Regions from separate parts of the Homo sapiens genome. Here region 2 is linked to region 1. The links are contacts of gene promoters, found by promoter capture Hi-C in blood cells and fetal thymus (Javierre and others, 2016). All regions are on one chromosome and are shown on one strand. The core of a region is centred on a gene start or on the middle of the fragment in contact, and the rest is flanking DNA. Distances in the headings are between cores, read along the strand shown. Region 1 holds the start of ZNF750 (zinc finger protein 750). Region 2 overlaps LOC101929650 (a long non-coding RNA gene).

Region 1 (7,172 bases), core at 2,688-5,187:
TCCATAAAAATCAGGAATCACTACTGACATAAAATTCTACAACACATAAAACTAATCCATGGTGGAAAAGTATCAGCCTGCAGTTGCCACGGTCTGGGTGGGGAAGGGTGGCACTGCTGTGACGGAACTCTCTGGGGCCATAATGGGAGAACACATTTGTCAAAACTCGTTAAATGATCCTCTTAAGACCTGTGCCCTTCACTGAATGTAAACCTTACCTTTGAAAGAAGAATCATAAACTAATAAGAATATGCCTGAAAAGTGTTTGGGGCAAAGCATACTGATGTCTGCAACTGACCTGAAATGCAGCAAGACGATTAAGCTGGATGGGGAGGGGAAGGGAAGGGTAAGTAAGCTGGACGGGGAGGGGAAGGGAAGGGTAAGTAAGCTGGACGGGGAGGGGAAGGGAAGGGTAAGTAAGCTGGATGGTGAGGGGAAGGGAAGGGTAAGTAAGCTGGATGGTGAGGGGAAGGGAAGGGTAAGTAAGCTGGACGGGGAGGGGAAGGGAAGGGTATGTAAGCTGGATGGGGAGGGGAAAGGAAGGGTATATAAGCTGGACGGGGAGGGGAAGGGAATGATAAGTAAGCTGGACGGCGAGGGGAAGGGAAGGGTATGTAAGCTGGACGGGGAGGGGAGGGGAGGGGAAGGGAAGGGTAAGTAAGCTGGACAGGGAGGGGAAGGGAAGGGAACACAGACAGCTGTGTTAACTGGAGAACCCCACCGTTGGGCATATGAGAGTTCACTGGAGCATCCTTACAACTTGTCTGTATTTTGAAAATTTTCACACTAAAATGTTAAGAGAGAAAGAATCAGGAATCAGAATGGCATCAAGGTTCTCAACCACAGTACTAGAAGCTAGAGAAAATAGAGAACACTTGCGGCCGGGTGTGGTGGCTCACACCTGTAATCCTAGCACTTTGGGAGGCCGAGGCGGGCGGATCACGAGGTCAGGAGATCGAGACCATCCTGGCTAACACGGTGAAACCCCGTCTCTACTAAAAATACAAAAAATCAGCCGGACGTGGTGGAGGGCGCCTGTAGTCCCAGCTACTTGGGAGGCTGAGGCAAGAGAATGGCGTGAACATGGGAGGTGGAGTTTGCAGTGAGCCGAGATCGCGCCACTGCACTCCAGCCTGGGTGACAGAGCGAGATTCCATCTCAAAAAAAAAAAAAAAAAAGAAAGAAAGAAAATGAAGAACACTTGCAAAAATCTGAAGGTAAATGATTTCTGGCCTGAAATTCTAGACTCAGCCAAACTATCAGTGAGGTTGAAGAGTAGATAAAAACATTTTCAATAATTCAAGACCTCCAAAAAAATCTCTCTTGCACTTTCTCAAGAGCCTATAAAAGGTGTGTGCCTCATGTCAAACTAAATGATTAACTCAAGAGAAAGACGACATGGGATCCGAGCAGCAGGCCTTCCAGTGCAAGAGAGAGGCAGGCAAAACCCCCTGGGTGACGGGGAAGGCAGACATGGGGGCAGAAGGGGCAAAGAGAGGCAAATTCCCATCTTCCATGAAGGGAAGCCACCAAACAACACCTCGACCAGGAGTGGAGAAGGGAGAGAGGGGGAGAGAGGGCACAGAACCACCAACAGATCAGTAAGGCTGGAATCGAGGAGGTAAACACCCAGCCAGGCGCTGGGATAAGCTCCCTCCCTGCCGTCTCAGCTCCCAAGGAGGACCAGGGACAGAGACTCTCAGGAGCAGGGTAGAGGGTGGAAGGTACACAGATTCTCAAAGGCCTCACTGGACCCTCCATGGCAAGGGTCAGAACACTCAGCTTAGGAAAGGCCAAGGTGGGGCTTCCGGGCAGAGGGAGTCGTAGCGCAGACACCTGGCACTCCTGCCGCTGAGAGGTGGAGCCCTCGGCTCCCGCCTTGCATCTGGGCAGCACGAGGCTGCCTCAGCAGAGAAAGGTGACAGAAGGGACACCCTGACAATCTGCGGCCCAGCCTTCTGGAGGACTGGAACCTTCCGCCTTGCTCTCTTGAAGTCCTGAGCCATCATACAGCTGACCACCCTGCTAGGGAGGCCTCTGAAGTGCTACTAAGTGAGGATGAGGTTCCAGCTGATCTCAGGATTCCAGCTGCCCCTCCAGGACAGAAGGCAGGTGAGTAAAGCTGTCCTGGACCCTCCAGACCAGTCACCTGCCAGCTTTCTCCCACGGAGCCACCTCAGTCAGTGTCCATGAAACAGAAGCAGCACTCGGCCAGGCCCTCCACAAACTCCTGACACAATATATCCTAAGACGTAATAAAACGGTGCTTGTTTTAAGCCACTAAGTTTGGGATAGTTTGCTATCCAGGAATAGGTAAGAGGGACAGGGAACTGCTGTTTTTTGTCATAAGACTTACATAACTCTTTTTGACTTCATAAAGTATATGGATGTCTCAATGGACAAAAGCCACCAAAAAAAATTTTAAGGTATTAAACCATCCTAGGAAACATGGCAAAACCCTGTCTCTACAAAAAATTCTCCAGGCATAGTGACCGTGCCTGTAGTCCCAGCTACTGGGGAGACTGAGGCGGGAGGATCACTCGAGTCCAGGAGGTTGAGGCTACAGTGAACCGTGATCGCACCACTGCACTCCAGCTTGGGTGACAGGGCAAGACCCTGTCTCAAAAGAAAAAAAAAAGGAATTAAATATAAAAGTAAACGCAAAGCCATGTAAAATCTTAAGTCTTAAGGAAAAAAATAACAAAAACAAAAAAACAGACCGGGTGCAGTGGCTCACACCTGTAATCCAAGCACTTTGGGAGGCCGACGTGGGTGGATCACAAGGTCAGGAGATCAAGACCATCCTGGCTAACACGGTGAAACCCCATCTCTACTAAAAATACAAAAAATTAGCCGGGCGTGGTGGCAGGCGCCTGTAGTCCCAGCTACTCGGGAGGCTGAGGCAGGAGAAACGCAGTGAGCCAAGATCATGCCATTGCACTCCAGCCTGGGCAGCAACAGTGAAACTCTGTCTCAAAAAAAAAAAAAAAAAAAAAAAAAAAAACCAGTTTGTCTGTCCTGGCCAGCTCGTCCCTATGCCACAGCCCTGCAGCCTCTGCCCTGCAGCCTCAGGCTCATCCAAGGGCCTGACACCAGCTCATCCCACCTCCTTTCCCAGTCCTCAAACCGACACCACATGCCAGCCTTCGCTACAACTGGGGTGCGGCCTCCGATTAAGCAAGCAAGCAGTTTTGGTGGGGGGGTGTGGAGGTAAAAACTGGCCCCCAAGTTAAGTGCCTCTGCAATTTAAAGTGGGGGGAGGGTGGTTTGCGGGAGTGCACAGCTGGCCCCCTCCCCCGCACCCACACACCCTGCTCCGCAGCTCTTGCGGTGCCTGGTGTCGGGCAAGCTCCGGCAGGTCCCTGCAGCCAGGCTCTGGGATAAGCTCCCTCCCTGCCGGCTCAGCTCCTGAGGAGGACCAGGGACAGAGACTCTCAGGAGCAGGGTAGAGGGTGGAAGGTCCACAGATCCTCAAAGGCCTCACTGGACCTCATGGCAAGGACGCCATGAATACTGTGCCTCCCAGGGTATGCGCGCTTGAGAATCAATCCAAGTGTTTGCCTCCTGCGTACACATGCTCAAGTTCTAAAGGAAAGTCTCACATGTCTTTATCATGACGCCAAATATTCATCGGGTGTGATTCTGATGAATATAGTAATCTCTATTCTAACTGCGGACACATCGAAAGCCCTCTGACATATGGCCGTCCAGGCAGCACCGACGCCGCACTCACAGACAGTTGAGTCTGGAGACAGCGCTGGGAGTCGGCGAGATAACTTGCTTGCTGGGTCCAGTGCTGGGGAGGCTGCCCGCAGCAGCTCGGTGGGTGCAAACACATGAATCGTAGCTGCGGGCAGGAGGAATATCAGGTGCATCTCTACGCCCCGAGGGCTCAACTCCTACACTTAAATCCCTCCCACTGGAACAGCAGGCTCCAGTTTCACCCAGCAAGCGTGAGAACAGGTACTGCTTCCTGAGCACCGCCAGCCACCGGCACCAAGACCGGCCACATCCCAGCACTGCCCACCTCTGGTAAGTACTCACTATTTCTTTTCAAATTCAAGTTTTATTTTAAAACTCTTCTCAGACGTATCTAAAATACCCAGCTGAACGCAGCGTTTGCTCCGTGTCTGCTCTGCCTTGCTCTGGGCTCCGAGGATTACTCAGGACCCAGCAGGTGCATGGCTGGGATGCAGACCACGATTACAAAACTTCTAATGAGGCTGACACTTTATTCTAAGAACATGAACAAGCTTATCTGGAAATTAACTCCTTGTTCTGCCCTAAAATTCATAAAAGTTAAACCAACACAAATTCATATTATTGCTTAACTGCTCCTAACCTCAAAAACAAACTACAATAAATGCTAACAAGAGGTAAGGGTCATATATATATGTGTGGTGTATGTACATTAGGGTGAATTTAGGGTTATATGTGTGGTGTATGTACATTAGGGCTGAATTTAGGGTTATATATATGTGTGGTGTATGTACATTAGGCTGAATTTAGGGTTATATATGTGTGGTGTATGTACATTAGGGCTGAATTTAGGGTTATATATATGTGTGGTGTATGTACATTAGGCTGAATTTAGGGTTATATATATGTGTGTGTGGTATATGTACATTAGGCTGAATTTAGGGTTATATATGTGTGGTATAAGTACATCAGGCTGAATTTAGGGTTATATATATGTGTGGTGTATACACATTAGACACAGCTGAATTTAGGGTTATATGTTTGTGGTGTATGCACATTAGACAGTGCCGAATTTACTATCTAGTTTAACTTTTAATAGTTTTAAAGTTTAAAATAAGTACATAAGCTTACATGAAGTTTAAAATTGGGCATAAGCTTTCGAAAACAAAACCAAACCAAAGGGGTTAAGTTTCTGTTTGGTTGTTAAGGTCTTCTGTACATATAGACACAGATACAAAAGGGTTTTTTTCCTTATATGAAATTTCTCATAAACTTGATTTGGAGGAGAACAATTACTGACCAAGCACAGTCCGTCCACATCTGTGCCCCTAATTTTCACTGCGCATTAGCAAAGGCCTTCCAGCATTTCTGACCGGAGTTTCAGGATGAGGCGGCGACTGTAAAGTGGTGAGCGTTTGTTTACGAGCTCAGGTCTGTAACTCGGGATCTCCTGCCGAAACTAGAGTTAAGAGCCCCTGGTTGTTTTTCTGGATCCATTCTTCCAAATTACATTCCCAAAGACTGTCTTTTCCCCAGGTCTTGGTTGTCCTGAGGTTTATCTTTCATTTTAAAGAACCGAAAGGCTGGGAGGGAGTGGCAGTCAATCACTGGAAAAGCTCAATTGGAGTAAAACTCACAAATCTCGTTCTTGCGACATCACAGTGGGTAGGCGACAATGGTGTGTCCTTGAGTTATGCAACAACGCCACATCACAATATTGTAATTACAGCATGCCCTTCACAATGCTCCAGCCGAGCAGGCTCCTTGCCAGACAGCTGGACACCACCAAAAGGAACATTACAGCACAATCTCAGGGCACAGGTTAGGACGCATGACAAGCATAGTTACCCAGCCTGTCACAGAAACGTCCCATAAAGTTAAACTGTAATTACTTCCGCTGTGTCCTATCAAAGTTTTTTTTTTTAAGAACTCTTTCTCTTGTCTATTTTTCAAAGTTCAAACTCCTTAGAAGCTTGTTAAGCATCCCAACTTCTCACTATTACCCTAACAACTGTCTGCTGCATTAACTGTCCACACTTAGGAACCTTTGGAAAGACAGTATATTGGCAATTTAGACACAACCCCATGGCCAACCGAAACCACTCACTCTTCAAAGCACTGTCTGTGTGGGCAGCTACGCCCCAACACCCGGCCCAGTGCACGTTGAGCAGGAAGAGAAGCGAGCTCTCAGCTCAGCGCACTTTCCAGAAGCCAAGTGCATCGGCTGAGCACACAACATTTAAAATATTTAGAAAGGCACAGAGTGGCATCTGTAAATATGGCAAGAAAAGCCTGGTGAAAGCTCAGCTGGATCCTGAGCATGTTTGAAGCCACTGCACCCCACTGTTCTTACGCCCTTTAGTGTAGACACTGTCTACATTGGCTGCTTGATCTGAAATAACTTGGAGAAAGAAGGCTTTGTGCCAGGCCAGGCTCGGAGGAGGTGTGTTGGAGAAGAGGGCACACATTAGCCAGCAGCAGTCAGGGAAGACTCTGCATAAGTATTTCAGCAACAGCCACCTTTGATCCAGATCTGGAAGCTCTGTGGCATGTCCACCCTGCTAACGCTTCCTGCCGATCCAGTGGGAAATGAGAGGAGGATGAAACCCTCCTTCAGGATCACACCGAGGTCTTCACTGTAAAACACGCTAGCACTGCAGTTCTCAAATGAAAGCAGATAATGAATGAGACTCTGCTTTATTAACAGACAGACAGACAGCTCTCCGGGCATGTTATTAACTAAAATGGAAACACACCTCCCCCAGGAGAGAAAGACGCTCCGCACTTCTTTATCCCCTCTAGAGAAAAACTGCACCTCTAAATACAAATCCAAATTACTGTAAACAGCTAGATTTCTGGGTTACACTGTTTGGGCAACAACATACTCTTTTGGGAATATTTAACACCAGCAGCTGCCAGAGTACAAAGTCGGGCTGGTAGAAACTGACCACACAGAGACTATTTCAAACGCTGTGCCCACAGACAGCTGTGACAGCCTGAGGTACTGGCCGTCGGGTTTGGTTTCTTCATCCTTATAAACCTCACTTAAGCAGGACACAGAACTCACAGGCTGACATCATCATCATTTGAAAGCTTACCAAAGCAACAATGTTATCCCACTTACTTCTCTGACACTATTGTAGTTTTACAGATCAGGTGACCTACGCCCGGCTTACAACTGAAGCAGCTGTGCTCCCTGTTTTAATTAGCAAATTGTGCAAGCCTGAGAGGTCGGTTTATCCAAGGTTACTAAAACCACTGCCCGAGACTCCATATCGACACCAATTCCCTTCGAGCAATTGAGCTCCAAACACTCTCACCACCAGGGGCTTCCTCCCTGCCACACCCGCTTACGTGAACTAACTGATCAAAGAACAAAAGGGCAAATCTGACTAGAAAACAGACATATTCATTTAAAAGCAATTATTTCCCTAATTACTATTTTGGGCAACAGCAGAGCTTACACGTAACCT
Region 2 (7,172 bases), core at 2,700-5,199, 330 kb before region 1:
TTCTGGATCGTCACAGAGAGAAACCGATCTGGAAAGCACCAACTCAAATAGAATCACAGCAGCACGGATGCAGTGTGCCAGGCGCCGTTTTAAACCCTTTGAATGTATCCACTCATGTCATCCCCACCAAAGCTCTGTGAGGCACGGCCAGGTTCAGGGGCTGGCCCAAGGCCTGCAACCCCAGTCAGTCCCCGGGATCTGTGGCCGGAGTCGCAAAGCTGCAGCGTGTCTGGGCCCAGGTGTGGCCAGTCCTGCCACATAGGCCTGTGGGTTGGCTCCGAGTTTGTCCTCAAGTGGGTAATAAATAGCACCGTGGCCTGAAGGTCCCGAGAGGCACGTCTGGGGCAGGGGGCGAGGGACACAAGGACACCTCTTGGTCAGGTGGCCCAGGGGCACTCAGCACTTGCTCCTCCCTTGTGGCCGGCAGCAGGTGCAGATTTGACCATATGCTCCTCACAGCAGCGTCAGGTGCTGGCCAGGCCAGGGGGGCCGGGACCCGGGGGCCCAGGTCCATGGGGATGAGCCATCTCTGCCTGGTGAGGCTCCCCCAGTGATTCAGGGCCATGCTTTCGGAGGGGCCAGAGGACAGCCCGGTGCTCTGAGCAGCTGCCGCCGAGACAGGACTAACCTCTCGAGGATTTCATCAGGGAGATGCCTGTTAGTGGAATGAGCAGGAGCCGGGCCGGCAGGAAGGACAGAGCCGAGGGCCTCCCCTGGACTCCTAGGTCTTGGCCTTGCGATCAGTCTTGGCTCTGTCCCCACAGAGGAGCTGAGGCTAAAAGGCTGCCAGCTGCCCCAAAAGTGCATCCCGGCACACAAGCGGCAAGGAGGGTTGAAGCCAGAGACCTGCAGAGAAAGTGTCCCCGGGCGGCACAGCCCCTCTGTGGAGCCGTGGGCTGCAGGTTACACAGCCCGGCTCTTGTGTGTGCCACGTACCCCAGAGACGGCTTGAAACTGGCTGTGCCACCAGCTTGAAGCCACTCGCTGGCTTATGGGGCCTCACCCAGGCCTTGCCCCAGGAGGAAGAGGTGGGAGAACGGAAGGTGCCTTAGCTAGGGCTTCTCTAGCAAAACACCAAGACGATTTAATAACAACACACATTTATTTCTCACAGTTCTGGAGTTTGGAAGCTGCAGACGGTACCAGCTGAGTTGGGTTCTGGTGAGGGCCCTCTTCCTGGCTTGCAGACAGCCACCTTCTCACTGTGTCATGTGGAGGAAGAGAGGGGCATCCCTTAGGCCTCTTCTGTAAGGGCAGTAACCCCGTTCATGAGCCTCCGCCCTCATGACCCCATCACCTCCTAAAGGCTGCACCCCCAAATGCCATCACCTTGAGGGTTGATTTCAACACATGAATTTGGGGGGACACAGGCATTCAGTCCATTGCTTTCCCAGAAAACAAGCTGCAGGGGGACCTGCTGGGCGCCAGGTGGTCCTCGACACCAGCCCGGCTCCAGCAGGCTCTGCAGGCTGCGGAACAGAAGCCCACGTCCCAGGCTCCCCTGTAGGCAGGTAGCGTTGGGCCTCCCTGCTCCGTGTCCACTGTCCATGCCTGCAGCCAATTCCTAATGCCCGGGGCTCAGCTGAGGCACATCTTCCTGAGTCAGTACCCCCAGAGCTGGCTTCCAATGCCCCACCCGTGTAGGCCAATTCTGCATTGTCTCTGGGAGGGGTCTTTACCACTTCCCTCCTGCATCCAAGCCCACCTCACCTGGGAGGGGCCTGCTCCTGTGCGGGACATTGATGGATGCAAAAAAAGAAAATGGTTTTGGGGGTCTGAGGGGCTGAGGAAGCCCACCAAGCTGCTGGACACGGCACCCGAGCACCTGCTGGGCGATGTCGGAATTCTCTCTACACAACATGGACCTGACATCACCCTCTCTGCAGCTCCTGCAGCCAAAGCACAGACATGCACACCAGCCTGCTTGTGCCAGGGAACCTCGTCGGCATGGGGAGGCTGCACCCTGGAGGGGCAGGCTGGGGAAAGGGCATGGAAGGTGGGCAGAGATCGGGCCTGAAGACCCCGTTTTCCCGGACATCCCAATCTCCAGTGTCCTTGGATGTCCCCACCTCTCAGAAACTTGATTTCTGAAGATGAACTCACAGAACTCTTTTGGGCTGAAAGAAACAATGCTAGAAAACGCGTTTGTAAAATCTGCCCTGCCTGTTGCTTATGGCAGAAGGGGTAACCCTTCTTCATGTCCCATTCAGGAGCCCCACCCTGGTGCCCCAGCCTCCGCTGCTGCTGCTGCTGTTGGTAACCGTGCACAGACCTAAATGGGCTCGGGAAACCTGTCCCCATTCATCTCACACATTTCTGACTTGGACCAAACCCAAATTTCATTTGGTCAATGCCCTTCTCACCTCCTCCAGCCCCGTGTCAAGAAATGAAGCCTGACTGTTTCTGAATCATTTGCGCTTAAATCCCCCAAAAGAAGAGCGCTAAGTGGTTTCATCCCCAGAGAGACCTTGCCCAGCCTTTTCTCTGAGTGACAGGACATTCCCATCTGCTAAGATATATTAAACCCCAGCTTCTAGAAAGGCTGGAGTAGGATCTGAGGTGTTCCAAAGGCCTGAGCTTCCAACATGGTCTGAGCATCCGGAATCTATGGTGCTCCCTCAAGGGGAGGCTGGGTGAGCTTGGACAGGGCCACACACTAGGCCCCAGGGGAAAACCGCTCCCCCCCATGGTAGAGAGCTATGTGAAACCCTCCCTCTATCTCTCGGTGGTCAAGTGTATGTGAACTTGTCCTCTTCCAAAACTTCATTTGTCAATTCATAAACATGCCCTGAACTGAGACACAAACATGCCCTGAGCTTGGGCAGCGCCGGAGACACTCAGCACTCGGGAGGTTACGATCTCTGACCTGAGTGCTGGCTCTCACGGAGGGTCAGGCATCACAGTGGGCACTGAGACTGGACAGCCACAAGGAATTCTGGGCAAACAAGAGCCCCCCAGCTAACCCCTCTGGACTCCAGGCAAGCAGGATGACATCACAGCTGAAACCCAAGACCCAGAGGGGAGAGAGCTGGGGTGGGGGCAGGACCAGCGGTCTCAGACCCAGGGAGGACTGTGTGCAGCTCAGCACGCTCCGAACATGGGGATGGGGGACAAGGGGTCCCCTCCTGTCTGAGATGGGCTACCTGAGGGTGACTGTGAGGAAGGGTCCAGGTCCAGCACCGTTTCAGCCCCTCAGGTCCCACGGAAGCCCAGTGTTCTGGCACCAGGAGACTCCGAGCACAACCTGGGGCTCAGTTCTATCACTCGCGGCCCAGCCTGCTCCACACCACTACCCCTCTGAAAAATCTGTTCTGTCTTCATTTCACTCAGCGTCTGCATGCTGTGTCACCACATTTGGAATTATGCAAACTATTGTTATAAATAAATCACAGGCATCAAAAAGGGACCAAGCAGAAAATGAGCCAAACTCTGGAGCCTGCCGAGTCGCTCGTGTGCCCTGCGGTGCTGACACGGATCCCACCTAGACCTGTCTGTGCTCTCAGGCCCTGGTGCACGTTGCCCTCTGGGCAGGGGCATGGGAGGAGCAGCTGGACTCAGCCTCCAGAGCAAGGAGGGGCGAGAAGGAGAAAGGGGCCTCCTTTCAGAAATCTCTCCTCTTACCAGATGCTATTTCACCACTAGAGATTCATTCCTTTGGCTTAGATTGTGTCTCTGCATCTTCTATTAAATGCAGGCATCTGGCTGAGGAGGGCGCCAGCCTCTCTGTGGGCTTTGTTTGGGTGCCACGCCGTGGGCAGGGAAGCCAAGTGCAGAGACAGAAGTGGCCCAGGGGGTGGGAGGATGCCCAGTGGTCAGTGTGACCAGGGTGAGCACCAGCGACATCTCTGAGGCCAACAGAGACACCCCCGCCAGGTAGGAGAGAGGCACGAACAGAGAGGCAGGCAGAGCTGAGGCAACCCGTGCAGCCAGTCCTCTGGCCTTCATCGAAACCGGCGAGGCCACAGAGGCTCCCCAGGGACCCACGTTTGGCTGAAGGATGTTGCAGGCCCTGGGCCTGGCTGCAGAGGCATGCAGCTGCATCTTTCAGCACCCTGGGCTCATCTACAGAGTCAACAGGGAGGGATTAGGGAGGGGGCTGTTTGCAGAGGGTTTAGGGTTTCAAGTAAAGTAAACCCATGTGTGCACTGTTATGTAACCTGCTCAGCCAGCCTGCAATGCCTTCCCACACCATCCACTGGACAGTGGGGGCAGACAGACCTGGGCACCATCCCCCAGTCATCAAGACGGTAGGTGCTTGGCCCCTGATGCCTCATGAGCTGTGTTGCAGGCTGGGTCCTTCTCCAGCCTTGGTGCAAGAATATGGAGGCTGCTCGTGTTCACCGGCATTGGGTAAATACTGTACACGAGCAAAGGCCGGTGGTGTGCTGGGAGGGAGCTGTTCTCACCTATGGAACTCGCCTTTCAACACATGGAAGCCACAGTGCAGGAGTGAGGCGCAGCCAATGCCACGGAGGCAAAGCATGAGACAGGCCCCAGCTCGCAAGCCCACCTTCCTCTAGGCTGAGTGAGGCCTGTGGGCACTCGCACACACATTAAAGGAGGGCACCGAATCCCGGCCTGGGACTGGCCTCACTGTCGGGGTCTTGATGCCACACTCTGCTCAGGGGTCAGGGGAATACTGTCCAGTTGAACCTCAAGGGCCGCCTCGTCGGGGCCTCCAGGGGCCAAAAGTGAGGGTCCTCAAGCCCCCCACAGCAGCCTGACCCCCACGGGGCCTGCACAGGCTCTGGAGCCAGGGAGGGTTCACCGACGGCTGCCTAGGCCATCTGCCTCAGCCCGCTTGGGACAGAGCCTGGCATGGGGACACAGGTCAGATGAACAAAGGTCCTGTGGGCCTGCAGCCCTTGCTCCTGAGCACCGTGCCAGCCCTCCCCTCGGGAAGGGGATCACCTTTCTCTGGGCAGGACCCTGCCCCACCACCACTCAGGCTCAGATGCTGAGGTTGGCTTCTCCTGCCTCAGCACTGACAACTTTTCCTTCTTCATCTGATCCTTCACCAAGTATTTACTGAGTCCTTCACCAGACGTGGCAGCACTCTAGGTACTGGGCAGAGCGGGGAAGAGGCCAACACTGCTCACCCAGCCCTCCTCGCTGCACCCCGACCCCACTGCTGACCCAGCCCTCCTCGCTGCACCCCGACCCCACTGCTCGCCCAGCCCTCCTCACCACACTGCTGACCCCACTGCTGACCCAGCCCTCCTCGCCGCACCCCGACCCCACTGCTCACCCAGCCCTCCTCGCCGCACCCCTCACCCCACTGCTGACCCAGCCCTCCTCACCACACCCCTCACCCCACTGCTCACCCAGCCCTCCTCGCCACACTGCTGACCCCACTGCTGACCCAGCCCTCCTCGCCGCACCCCTGACCCCACTGCTGACCCAGCCCTCCTCGCCGCACTGCTGACCCCACTGCTGACCCAGCCCTCCTCGCCGCACCCCTCACCCCACTGCTGACCCAGCCCTCCTCGCCGCACCCCTCACCCCACTGCTCACCCAGCCCTCCTCGCCGCACTGCTGACCCCACTGCTCACCCAGCCCTCCTCGCCGCACCCGACCCCACTGCTCACCCAGCCCTCCTCGCCGCACCCCTTCACCCCACTGCTCACCCAGCCCTCCTCGCCACACTGCTGACCACACTGCTCACCCAGCCCTCCTCGCCGCACCCCTCACCCCACTGCTCACCCAGCCCTCCTCGCCGCACTGCTGACCCCACTGCTCACCCAGCCCTCCTCGCCGCACCCCTCACCCCAGTGCTCACCCAGCCCTCCTCGCCGCACCCGACCCCACTGCTCACCCAGCCCTCCTCGCCGCACCCCTCACCCCACTGCTGACCCAGCCCTCCTCGCCGCACCCCTCACCCCACTGCTCACCCAGCCCTCCTCGCCGCACTGCTGACCCCACTGCTGACCCAGCCCTCCTCGCCGCACCCGACCCCACTGCTCACCCAGCCCTCCTCGCCACACTGCTGACCCCACTGCTCACCCAGCCCTCCTCGCCACACTGCTGACCCCACTGCTCACCCAGCCCTCCTCGCCGCACTGCTGACCCCACTGCTCACCCAGCCCTCCTCACCACACTGCTGACCCCACTGCTGACCCAGCCCTCCTCGCCGCACCCGACCCCACTGCTCACCCAGCCCTCCTCGCCGCACCCCTCACCCCACTGCTCACCCAGCCCTCCTCGCCGCACCCCTCACCCCACTGCTCACCCAGCCCTCCTCGCCACACTGCTGACCCCACTGCTCACCCAGCCCTCCTCGCCGCACTGCTGACCCCACTGCTCACCCAGCCCTCCTCGCTGCACCCCTGACCCCCACACGGGGCACAGCCAGGTGGTGTGTTGGGGCCCGTCCCACCCCACCTAGGAGGCAGTGGTTTGGGACACATGTGCTGCCACTGCCCCCAGCATCCCCTCCTGCTCCCACTCCCACCCTGCTCTGCCTGCCCTTGGCCTGGGCTTCTCTAGACCTTTGCATCCCCAGACTGGCCCCCCATCCAACTCCAGGCTAGTCTGTCTCTGGACACCATTGGGTGCATCACTTTAGAATATGCGGTGGGCCCTAAACTAGGCTACAAGTAGGTACCAAAAATAAACAATGTACTTAATTAAAAAGAGGGGTGCAAATGAGGAGCTGGTCCCCAGGGACCGCCCTGCTTCTCCATGCCGGCTCCAACGTAAGGAACGCACCAAAAGCTCCCACCGCACACAAGGGAGGAGCCGTGTCTGCCAAGTCCACGCTCTGGCAAGGCCTGGTCTCACCATGGTCACATCCTGGCCACTGCCCACACCAAGTCCCAGGCGAGGCCCCGGCCCACACCGAGTCCCAGGCGAGGCCCCGGGCCACACCGAGTCACAGGCGAGGCCCCGCCCACACCGAGTCACAGGCGAGGCCCCGGCCGTGAGCTCCATCTGGACAAGCCAGGCTGCCCGGGCCGCCTCCAAGCACAGAGACTCTGTTCCTTGGGAGTCCAAAAATCTTTAGGCTGTGGAATTAGTTTAAAAAGATTTCAGATTGATGGGGCTACAGGAGCTTGGGAAAAGCAAATACAGTCTGTGAAGGGATGCACATTCATCTCAAACTCAAAGAATTTCCCCCAATAATTGTATAAGCAACATGAGCAGCTCACAGTGAAAAATAACTACATATACAA

What was found. The method cuts DNA at HindIII sites, captures the fragments that hold promoters and counts their contacts. A CHiCAGO score of 5 or more calls a contact.
Region 2: a contact is called between a fragment that was not itself captured here and the fragment with the promoter of ZNF750 in region 1, in 1 of 17 cell types (neutrophils). The highest score is 5.9, in neutrophils.

What each region holds. Positions count from the first base shown.
Region 1 is chr17:82,836,787-82,843,958 of GRCh38, reverse strand. It overlaps ZNF750 (zinc finger protein 750), which reads left to right and starts at 3,937. Exons shown (of 3, transcript NM_024702.3): 1 at 3,937-4,032. The region is part of intron 13 of TBCD (tubulin folding cofactor D); the gene reads right to left. RefSeq lists an enhancer at 5,905-6,406. The HindIII fragment of the contact is 6,856 bases long and covers 1-4,255 here.
Region 2 is chr17:83,171,519-83,178,690 of GRCh38, reverse strand. The region is part of intron 2 of LOC101929650 (a long non-coding RNA gene); the gene reads right to left. LOC124904105 (a long non-coding RNA gene) reads right to left here. Exons shown (of 2, transcript XR_007065981.1): 2 at 1,084-1,202. Among named protein-coding and RNA genes, the nearest start is that of METRNL, 95 kb to the right of the region's middle. The HindIII fragment of the contact is 9,987 bases long and covers 1-7,172 here.